2 separate regions of the Homo sapiens genome follow, and region 2 is linked to region 1. Evidence: promoter capture Hi-C in 16 types of primary human blood cells and fetal thymus (Javierre and others, 2016). All regions are on one chromosome and are shown on one strand. Each heading gives the region's core, a stretch centred on a gene start or on the middle of the fragment in contact. The rest is flanking DNA. Distances are from core to core; before and after follow the strand shown.

Region 1 (5,445 bases), core at 1,960-4,459:
AGATATTTAAATTATGTTCTATTATGTATTTCCCTCCATTTCTAACCTATTTTTTTAACTTTCACTTTTCTAAACAAAAAATTAATCATATTATCCAAAGCAATAGATAATTTGTTCTCTTCAAAATAGAGCTGATTGAAGGATAGAAGAGATCTAAAGGTGAAAGAAGAAAGTGATTTTACCAGCAGGCCCAGGAGGGTCGAGCCCAGTGAGGCTCGATCACTGCATCTCTCTCCTGATAATGAGGTCACATGTCCCAGGCTGTATGCCACTGGAGCTTCCATAGTGGCATACTCTGCCCCCGTCCAATTTTAATACTGCTGACAGAGGCTGGCAATGATCAGAAAAAGAACCAGGCCTTGTTTGATAGGTCTAAGGAGCTACTAGCCCAGTTTAAAAGCCACCCAACACCTACTGAACAGCTAAGAACATAGGCAGCCAAGAAATGACCCGGATACTGAGGCCCCAGGTTGGATTTAAAGTGCTCCAGGTCACTGCTGTAGAAATTATGGTGCTCCCAGTCTCCATCCTTCCTCCACTGAAGGAGGTTGGACTGATGTTGACCCAAATTTGAGATTCAGATCTTGGAGCACCATTATGTCCTGAGAAAAGAGTATAGCTTTGGAGTGCAAAAGCTCTGGGTTCAAATTTTAGCTCTGGGACCCCAGGCAAGTTACTTGGCATCTAGATCTTGGAGTTATAAATTTGTAAAATGAGAATAATGTCATGCACAGAGGATTATTGTGGAGATTTTACTAATTGTGTAAAGCACCTGGCAGAGAGAAAAGACTTGATACACGCTGGTCTCCCTCTGCTTCTCCAGCACACACCCTAATCACTGTTCCTAAATTAGCCTGGCAGAGGAGGGTCTGGTCTTGGTGAAGCCCAGTCTCAACCAACGAGGTGGCTCTGCTGCAGAGGCACACCTGATGGCAAGCTATGGGAGTACTTATAGCATAAAAACTTATTTGACATGGATCAGATCTTTACCAGATTTGTATTTAATAGGTTAGAATTACAGTCTGAGAGAGGAGAAATGAGAGGAAGAATGGAAAAGCTAATAAATGGTTATAAATTAGAACCTCTGAGAGAACTTAAAGAAATTGTCTTTTACTTGGAGAAAAGAAGATTGAAAGCAATTTAACAACTCTTCAAGACAATGCATGAAGGATAATCAGCAGGATAATGGCCCTAATCCCTAAGGCCAGAAAAAGAGGAACGAGTTGAATTTGCATTAGAGAGGGAGGGAGATAGATTAAATTTAAGGCGAAATTTCTCTAGAAGAATATTATTAAACAGTGGGATAGGTGACCGCAGAAGCCTATGGAATTTTCTTTCATGGAACTCCATAAAAACAGAGAGCCCCTGTTTGGTTTGTGAGAGGTACTGACCCTGTTCCAGAAATCTGAGGTAGAGGGGCAGGAGGGAAAGGGGATGGAGAATATCGCAGAGATAGTTCTTGAGCCCTGGAAAATACAAGTTAAAGCACTTGGAAGGCTTTCAGGGAAAAGAAGCAACATTCATCTTTGACTAGGAAACAGAATCTGAATGCTAATGCAAGAGAGAACATGCGGGGTGGGGAGAAGGTGCGGGCAAAGGGGAGGAAAGGAGGCGATCCATTTTGTTTCCACATTGCAGGCACCACTCCACTCCTAGTGGAGCAATCCTAAATTTCTTTCTGTGGGCCTCAGTTTCCTTTTCTGTAATATCAAGCGCTTAGATTAAGCACTCTCTTGAGTCTCATCCAATCCTGAATTTGTGTTTATAAAACCGATCCAGAGAGTGTGAGTAAATCTGTGAACAGCTACTTCAGCCCCGAACCCAGTGGTGTTGAGTGGACTGGTCCTGCACAGAGGGACAATGCACCTGCATGGGCAAAAACTGGGGCTGGGCCAGAGTCATGGGCTTCAATCCCTGCTTTTCAGCCACTAGCAAGTTGTTCATCTTCTCTGAACTTCAATATCTTCATTCGTAAAATGTGGACAGTAATAGCTCCTTTGGCCGTTTCGAGTTTAAATTAGATAATGCAAGTAGAAGACATAGTACAATAATATCTAATAACTACCATGTTCAGGAATATAAGTACCAATAAAATGGTACCTATTGTATTAATAGCATTTGAGTGAGAATTTTTAAGTCTTTTTATTTCTCATCTTTTCATTTCTACCTTTATTGGATTTGTAGAATCTATTACAGTCAAATCATATAGTTTGGTGTTGTGGTGGTGATGTTTTTTGTTTGCTTTTTAACACACTTGCCTTTACTTGTTTTGGCAGAAGGGATCCTAATTCATTCAGCTTTCTCGAATGTCATATAAAAACACATAACACATGTTCACGTTCCTAGTTGTTTCTACATATTCTCTGCTCTTTTAGATGTGTAATATAGAACCAAGTAATTATTTAGCAGTTCCGGTGGCTTTGCATCATTTTGGCATTCATACCAAGCCCCCGTTACTGAGATCTTTGCTGCCCCTCTTTAACATGGTCAGTCGGGGTTCCTCGGTATTCTGTTGACGTCACCATTTTAGCTACCCTTCTCTGCATATTGACCTATCCCTTTGCAACTTCATATTGTCACTTTCAACAGTGTTTCCAACTTAAAACCCCCTATTTGACTCTTCAAAAGGCTAGACTCCCCATCCCCAGTTTGACACCGACAGGCAGGCTGTGGGATGTGCACCAGGTTGATACAGAACCCAGCTCCACCAAGCTGAAAGGGCGCGTCGCCCGGGCCAGGGTGGGGCACCAGGTTATGAGTGGCCTCCTGCCTTTTGGGTTTGCTTCCCCGCAGGGGACACCGTAGGCGGCTGTGCGGTCCGGCCACTGCCCCCCGCCCCTCGCGTCCGGCCGCGCCGTGGGTTGCGGTCTCCGTGGGGGTGGCAGCTCCTGTCCGGGAGGTTTGCGCCTGGCGGGGCACCCCAGAGCCGCGAAGAGCCGGTAGGCGAGGCCAGGGCGGGGTGGGGCGCGTCCAGGCGGGGAGGGCAAACTCGGGCAGCGCAGGGGGCGCAGAGGGCAGCGGGCGGGCGGACGCGCGGCGGAGGCGCGAGCGGGACGAGGGCTGGCTAGTGCCGGGGCCGCCCGCCCGAGGGGGAGGAGGCTGTGCTGCCCTTGCTGCAGGTTCGCTGTCGAGCGCACAGGAGGCAGGGACATGGGTAGGGTGCGGTCTGCGCGGGGCCCGAGCCCGGATCTCTTCCATTTCCCCTCTCACTCGGCCCCGGGCTGCGCCGCAGACGGCAGCAGCTCCCGCTCCGCCCGAGCCGCCTGACCGCCGGGCCGGGGTGCTAACCGCGGGGCCCTGCAGCCCGCCGGCCCGGCCAGCCCAGCCCAGCCCGGCGGCCCGCAGCCCCGCCGCCCGCCGCCCCCCGCCGCCGCCGCGTTGCCAAAACAAACGGGCCGGCCTATTTATTGGCGGCCGGCGAGCCCGGCAGCTCAGAGTCGAGGCGCCGAGGGGGACAGCGCGCCGCCACCAGCTCGGGCCCTGGGCCCCCGCCCCGCACTTGAGTCCCGCCGGCCCTGGCCGCACCACGCCGCCCATGGCGCCCCCGCCTGGAGCCCCCCGGAGCCACCCGGACGCCTGAGCCCCCGCAGCGCTCCCGTCGACGCGCCTGCCCATCAGCCCACCAGGAGACCTCGCCCGCCGCTCCCCCGGGCTCCCCGGCCATGTCTCCCGCCCGGCTCCGGCCCCGACTGCACTTCTGCCTGGTCCTGTTGCTGCTGCTGGTGGTGCCGGCGGCATGGGGCTGCGGGCCGGGTCGGGTGGTGGGCAGCCGCCGGCGACCGCCACGCAAACTCGTGCCGCTCGCCTACAAGCAGTTCAGCCCCAATGTGCCCGAGAAGACCCTGGGCGCCAGCGGACGCTATGAAGGCAAGATCGCTCGCAGCTCCGAGCGCTTCAAGGAGCTCACCCCCAATTACAATCCAGACATCATCTTCAAGGACGAGGAGAACACAGGCGCCGACCGCCTCATGACCCAGGTGAGCGCGATCCGCCCTACCAGCGCGCCGCCACCGAAGCACGGCCACCTGCCCGGCCCTACCCACCCCCTGGCACATTTTCTCGACTGGCTGGCACGCTCCCTGGCACCTGCCCCTCTCGCCAAGCCCCGCTGCCTCCTGCCCAAGATGGGCTGGCCAGGGGTCCAGGCAGGAGTGTCGGCATCCCCAAGCCCGGAGGAGACTGCTAGAAGAGCTCCCCGCTGCCAAGCCCCACAGCCCAGCAGGTTGGCGGCGGCTCCTCTGCCCCAAAGTACTGGCAGCTCAGCCAGACGCTGCACCCGGAGGTACCTCTACCCGGCTGCCTCCTGCGCCTCCAGGACCCACGCAGTCCCTCCCGGCCTAACCTTCTGCACAGCTGTGCCCCTTTCATTTTGAAACTTTTCGGCACCCCTGAGGCAAAGAATCTCTGGGTGCGTAGGGTCACCACGGCCTTTCCTCCCTGTGCGCTCTTGGTTCTACGGGCTGCCCCTTCCAGGAGCAGCGTCCCGGCTGGGTCTGGGGTTAAGAACAGCGAGGAAGAGTTGAATCGGGAGGCGGAGGTGGGAAAAGGAACCTGCCCAGCGAGCCCACGTGTCTGTCCGGAGAGCTGAGGGGTGCTACTGCGGTGGAAGGGTGGGTTATTGGGGCCTTCGGGCTCTGGGACTGAGCTTAGGGGATTCCTGGGCTTGGTGGTGGGGACGGGAAGGAGTGGAAAAGAGGGGCTGAGATGCCGAGGGAGGCAGGGACCAGGGCTGACGCTAGTCTCTGCATGCTGGAGTAGGACCCGCGCTCCACCCAAGCTTAGAGGCGCAAATTCCTTCCCAGCAGCCAGGTCCGCGAGGGGAGAGACCTTCACCCCCTTCCTTCGGGGTCTCCCGAGGCTTCCCCCTGAAAGCAGGCCCCTGGCTTTCTAGATCCGTTGGGAAGAGCAGCTAGACTCAGGGCCCTCAGCATGCACCCTGGCGCCGGGGCTGGCCGGCCAGTGTCGGGGCCGAAGGTTGGCTGGTGGCCGGGCCGGGCCGGGCGCCGAGGAATGCAGATAAGGATCCGGGCCACGGGCTGGGCAATCATTGACAGCGCACGCCCGGGCTCTGGACCCGAGAGGGGGCGGTGGCAGTGAGGGAGAGAGGCGGGGAACCAGGGCTGCAGGCGGGCATAGGTGCGGGGCTAGAAGCCTGACGGCAGGGTCTACGAAGGAGCAAGCGGAGCTCCCTCCCTGGGCAGTAAGCACCCCCAGCCAGGCTGTGCACCAGCGAGGACCTGCGAGGCCCTGGGTTGTAGCTGCTATTGGCTCCTAGGAAGGCTGAGTCCAAGGGTCTGTGAGGCCCGGGCTCTGCAGGGTGGGGGTAGGTTGAGACTTGGGCTGCCCACACTTGTTGGCGCCTCGAATCTCAGAGTCTCAGAGTCGAGGACTGGTGGAAGGGCCTTTCCCCTCAGACCAAGGCCCTGGCCCCAGCTTCTTCTCAGA
Region 2 (5,445 bases), core at 2,039-4,538, 210 kb before region 1:
AGGATAGAGTTGTAGGGCTGGACCATGGCTGTAGACACCTGGGGGGCTGGGTAGATGGAGAATCCCAGCTTGGATTTCTTGCCATAGTTAACAGAAAGCCACTCCATCAGGAATGAGGTGACGTCAGAGCCAGTGCCCCGACCAAGGCTGTGGAACACCAGGAAGCCCTGAAGTCCTGTGCACTGGTCAGCCTAGACAGGGAAGGGGAGGGGAAATGTGGGGCATGGAGCACAGCTGATGGACAGGAAAGAACCAACTTGTGCTGTTTTAAATTCCCAAAAGTTTCATGAACTCCTTGGAAGACTTTTCCAAGAGCACAAAAGAGATCCTCATAGAGTGGGTCCAGGGCCCACCCTTTCTCCTCCCTGTCCCTCTTCCTCTGAAATCTCCTGAGGCCCTTAACACAGAGCTCTGTTGTATGCTGGAAAAGAGGGGTATGATGGTGGGTGGAGTTGGCTGTCTAGGCTGACCAGTGCACAGGACTCCAGGGCTCCCTCATCTTGTCGTCATAACTTGCCAACTCCACCCACCATCACACCCATGCCCCGCTGATTTAACTTTGGATGTTTCTAGAGGGTTTCTCTACTAAGAACAACAATCCAGGAACCTCATCCCCATCCTTCGTAGAAGCCAAAGCCAATCACAGAGGCTTTGGGCTGACATTCTTTGAATCCCTGCCTTTCACAGGGACTTCTGCCCACATCCTTGTAACACAAGGTGGTATTCTGGGAACGCTTATGGAACCCCACAGCTTGGCCAGGCAGCCCATCAACATGTTTGCCTTAATGGACACCCTGCCTAGCATCAGGCCAGCCACTTCGGAGATACAGGGGACACCAGCTCCAGGCTGGAACCTACAGTTGGCCCCCCGATCAGAGTGCAGGGCCTCTCCTCATTGGTCCTGATCCTGTGTGTTTCTCCCAGAGGCTGAAGCTGTCCTTCCCCAATCTGGTGTCCAGACTACCTCACAACAGGAATCCAGATTCATTCCCCCTGCCCCAGCCCTCAGTCCTTTCCTCACCAGCTTCCGAATCCGGTCCAGTAGCAGGTCGATGAACTCCTTCCCAATGGTGTAGTGGCCCCAGGCATAGTTATTGGCAGCATCTTCCTTGCCTGTGATGAGCTGCTCTGGATGGAAGATCTGGCGGTATGTGCCTGTTCAAAGTTCATCTGCAGTGGGCAGAGTTTTGGGCCCCACCTCCCTTTGCAATCCAGCTGCTGGAGCCCCAGGGGACCTGAAGGGAGTGGGGTCACCGGGTCCCAGGTTCTGCATTCAGGCTGCTGCTATTACCTGCTTGGATGTGTTTGTGCTGCTTGGATGTGTTTTTCAATAAGGAAAGGGATGTGGAGTGGCCTACAGACTCAGGAGCTGAGTAACAGTGATTCTGTACATGTGGAGTTCTAATTGGCTGCAGCACCTGGGAAGCTATACCACAGACACCATGCTCTGCAGTTATGGAGTAGGACTTGCTGTGGTACCCAGGGACAAGGTTGTGGCTGGGACTGATCATCACAGCGGGCTCCAGATCCACAAACACCGCCTGGGGCACATGTTTCCCAGCCCCAGTTTCACTAAAAAAGGTGTTGAAGGAGTCATCCCCCTCCCCTGATGGTCTTGTCACTGGGCATCTGCCCATCAGACTGAATCCTATGTTCCAGGCAGTAGAGCTCCCAGCAGGCATTGCCAACTGCACACCGGCCTGCCCCACGTGGACTGAGATGCACTCACACTGAGTGGGCAAAGGGCAGAGAACGGCCTTCACAGAGGGAAACATATCATGCCTGGACATGGTTCCTGCCTGCCTTCCTTGAGTGGCTCTTTGGCTGAGGGCCAAGGTTCCTGGACTCTACTCTGCTTGCCTCGCCTCCTGCATCTAAGCATTTACTGGTGGCACTGAGGAGCAACAGGCATCGGCTGTAGGGGCTGGGCCAAAATCATTGGGGGAAGCAGAAGATGCGGGCAGTCCTGAGATTATAGACTCTTGCTCAGTGCCTGTCTCAATGAGCAACATTGAAGGAATCGAATGAATCTAGAAGTGCAAGATAATCTACCCACCAGTGTCCAGAAAGAAATTAGGAGCCATTGGTGAGGGAAGCAAGGGAAAATAGTACAAAGATAAAGCACAGGAGACATTAACTCCAAATTTGGAATAATGGTGCTCTCTGGCAGGGGAAGCAGATAGATGCAATTGGAGACAGATTCTATTTCTCAAGCTTGATAGCTGCTGTTCATCACATTATTCTTTTCTTTTTTTCTTGAGACAGAATCTCACTTTGTCACCCAGGCTAGAGTACAGTGATGTGATCATAGTTAACTACAGCAGTCTTGGACTCCTGGGCTCAAGGGATCCTCCTGTCTCAGCCTCCCGAGTAGCTGGGACTACAGGCATGCACCACCATGCCTGGCTAAGTTTTAAATTTTTTTGTAGAGACAGGTCTCGCCATCTTTCCCAAGTGGGTCTTAAACTCCTGGGGTCAAGCAGTCTACCTGCCTTGGCTTCCCAAAGTACTGGGATTACAGGCATGAGCCACCGCCGCCCAGCCTATCATGTTATTATTTATACCTTTTTGCATTCCTGAAATATTTCTTAATTGTTTAATGAGGATGACTTCTCCAAAAATGTAACACTTCATTGACTATTTTTATATAACACAAAGGCCTGACTTTTCATGATTTTTAGATGACTGAGATTAATCCATAAATAATCTGTATTCCAGCCCAATTACTTCTCTACTTGTCTTGAGCAAAAATCTTAACCTCTTTGTCAATGTTCTCCTTTTGAAATGTAGACAATAATAAGAGCCCCTCCTAGAAAAACTATGAGAATTAAATGAAAGAATGCATGCAAAGTGCCTGGCCCACTGCCTAACACACACTAGGGTGTGCCATGCATGTTGGGTTCCCCTTCCAATTTCCCACCCTCAATCCCTGATGTCATAGTAAGAGAAGGTAATGAATTGAGGCTGGGCGCAGTGGCTCAAGCCTGTAATCCCAGCACTTTGGGAGGCCAAGGCAGGTGGATCACTTGAGGTCAGGAGCTCGAGACCATCCTGACCAACATGGTGAAACCCCCTCTCCACTAAAAATACAAAAATGGTGTATGCTTATAATCCCAGCTACTCGGGAGGCTGAGGCAGGAGAATTGCTTGAACCCAGAAGGTGGAGGTTGCAGTGAGCCGAGATTGCATCACTGCACTCCAGCCAGGGCAACAGAGTGAGACTCCATCTCAAAAAAAAAAAAAAAAAAAAAGATAATGAGTTGAGCTGAGACCTCAAGGACAGGAGAAATCCCAGGTCCAATCCTGGGGCTGCCTTGGCTCACCAATCACCTGCCTGGTGCTGCACCTCTGAGCCTGACCAGCCAGTTCTGTCCACAGACCCAGACATCGTCCTGGCCCCCAGAACTACTAGCCCATGCAAGGTGTCTCTGGCCCCTCTGGGAATGATGTCTCACACTGGAGGCAGCAGTTTTGGGGCAAAGAACTCAGCCCCTGGCCGGGTGCAGTGGCTCACGCCTGTAATCCCAACACTTTAGGAGGCCGAGGTGGGCAGATCACAAGGTCAGGCGATTGAGACCATCCTGGCCAACATAGTGAAACCTTGTCTCTACTCAAAATACAAAAATTAGCCAGATGTGGTGGCAAGCGCCTGTAGTCCCAGCTACTTGGGTGGCTGAGGCAGGAGAATCGCTTGAACCCGGGAGGCAGAGGTTGCAGTGAGCCGAGATTGCGCCACTGCACTCCAGAATGAGACTCCGTCTCAAAAAAAAAAAAACAAAAAAAAGAACTCAGCCTCTGGAGTCACACAGACCTGGCCTCAAACCCCCATCTCTCTGTGATCCAATACAAGTCATTTCACCTCAGCTTCCCTAGCACCTTTTTCATGACTGTAGAAAGAGAAGAATCTCATAGCCGGCGGCCTGTGTTGTTACATTGCTTAGTTCTGCTTATTAAGCACTAATAAGGTGCCAGGTGAAGGTGGCACTTTATACACATTATCTCATTTAATCTTTACCACATTCACCTTAGGTAGGTAGTTTTATTACCCCCAATTTATAGATGAGGAAACCGACCCTCAGAGAAGTCAAGTAGCTTGCTCAAGGCCATGAGCAAAACCAAGAATATTTAGAGCAGGGATGGCCTGGCACCAACCATGCTCTTAACTGTTCTTCTATCCTGCCTGGTAGGGAGGTGGGTAAAAGATATCAAATAAGCCCCAGGCACAGCCAGCTCTTGACAGATGGGAGCACCCCCTTTTCCCTCCTCCTTCTTCTCCCCACTGATCTGTAACTGACATGAGAGGTCAGACAAAGGCACAGCAGATGGGCAGGGTGGAGGGAGGAACCAGAGGGGAGAAGCTTCCATGGAGGATGTGTCCCCATGGTGGGAAGGTGGGATCAGAGCCCAACAGTGAACCTGTGGCAAGGCCCAGGGTCTGGAGATCCTCAGCCAGCAGAGGAAATCGCCTACACTTTCTGCTCAAGTCCTGCTTCCCCCACACTCCCCACACCTAAATTCAGACCCCCTCAGCAGCCCTGCTTCTCAGCCTAGGCTCAGCCCCACAACCTGGTTACCATTAAACTTTCCTTCCCTACCCCCTGTGATGCCCCCCACACCTGCACATTTGGGGGCCACAGCCACATCTGGAAGTCTCTTTCCCTCTCCCCACCTCGCCACATACTGTAGCCCCATCACCATGTGGACTCCCAAGGTACCTTCACGCCAGATATCTTGGGCCCACTGGGACCCTCACTTGCATGCTCAGTCCCCCCAAGGCCCCTTCTACTCACCATGCTGCCTGGACAGGGGCTGGCTGGGGTCTTGTCTCTCTGTCTGCTGCAGGATAGTGAGCAGGGATAGATCTGTGAGAGGCCTGCAGCGGCCAGCCAGCCTCCTCCTTATACTCGCTGGGTGGCTCTCAGCAGGTGGATGTTGTTAGAAACGGCCTGGGAGGGCAGGGCCTGTTGACTTGGTCACAGAGTACGAGGCAAGCTCTGGGCCTGCACCCAAACAGGGGAGCCAGCTGAGGTGGGCAGAGGAGGGGCCAGGGCTAGTAACTCCACACAGGTATCCAGGCCTCTGGGTACATGGTATCTGTTGTCAGTCACGCAATCCCATTTCCTGGTGGCACAGCCTGCACTTCACAGGTGGAAGATGATTTAGAAATCAAGACCCTGAGCTCCAGCACCGCCCCCACCCATCAAACCCCTGCACTCCCCTGCCCTAGGGTTGCTGAGGGCTGTAAGTCGACTGTGGGTGGGACTAAGAAGATCTCTGCAATGATCCAGAAATAATGAGTCCTCGGCCAAGAGATCAAGCCTCAGGACATCCTGCCTGGAAACTCAGAATATCATAGAACAAGCGACCTAGAGCTTGGTTTTAATCCCACCTCTAATAGCTACTAGCAATTAAAACTTCTTTTTTTTTCTCTCTCTGGAGAATGGG

Evidence for each region. The method cuts DNA at HindIII sites, captures the fragments that hold promoters and counts their contacts. A CHiCAGO score of 5 or more calls a contact.
Region 2: a fragment that was not itself captured here is called in contact with the fragment with the promoter of IHH in region 1 in 1 of 17 cell types (M2 macrophages); the score reaches 5.7 in M2 macrophages.

What each region holds. Positions count from the first base shown.
Region 1 is chr2:219,058,685-219,064,129 of GRCh38, reverse strand. It overlaps IHH (Indian hedgehog signaling molecule), which reads left to right and starts at 3,209. Exons shown (of 3, transcript NM_002181.4): 1 at 3,209-3,977. The coding sequence starts at 3,663. LOC124906120 (a long non-coding RNA gene) reads right to left here and starts at 2,437. Exons shown (of 3, transcript XR_007088092.1): 1 at 1-2,437. MIR3131 (microRNA 3131) reads left to right here and starts at 5,380; the gene lies at 5,380-5,442. The HindIII fragment of the contact is 5,239 bases long and covers 1-4,779 here.
Region 2 is chr2:219,265,912-219,271,356 of GRCh38, reverse strand. TUBA4B (tubulin alpha 4b) reads right to left here. Exons shown (of 4, transcript NM_001355221.1): 2 at 4,791-4,836; 3 at 1,022-1,155; 4 at 1-191. Among named protein-coding and RNA genes, the nearest start is that of DNAJB2, 11 kb to the left of the region's middle. The HindIII fragment of the contact is 2,144 bases long and covers 2,217-4,360 here.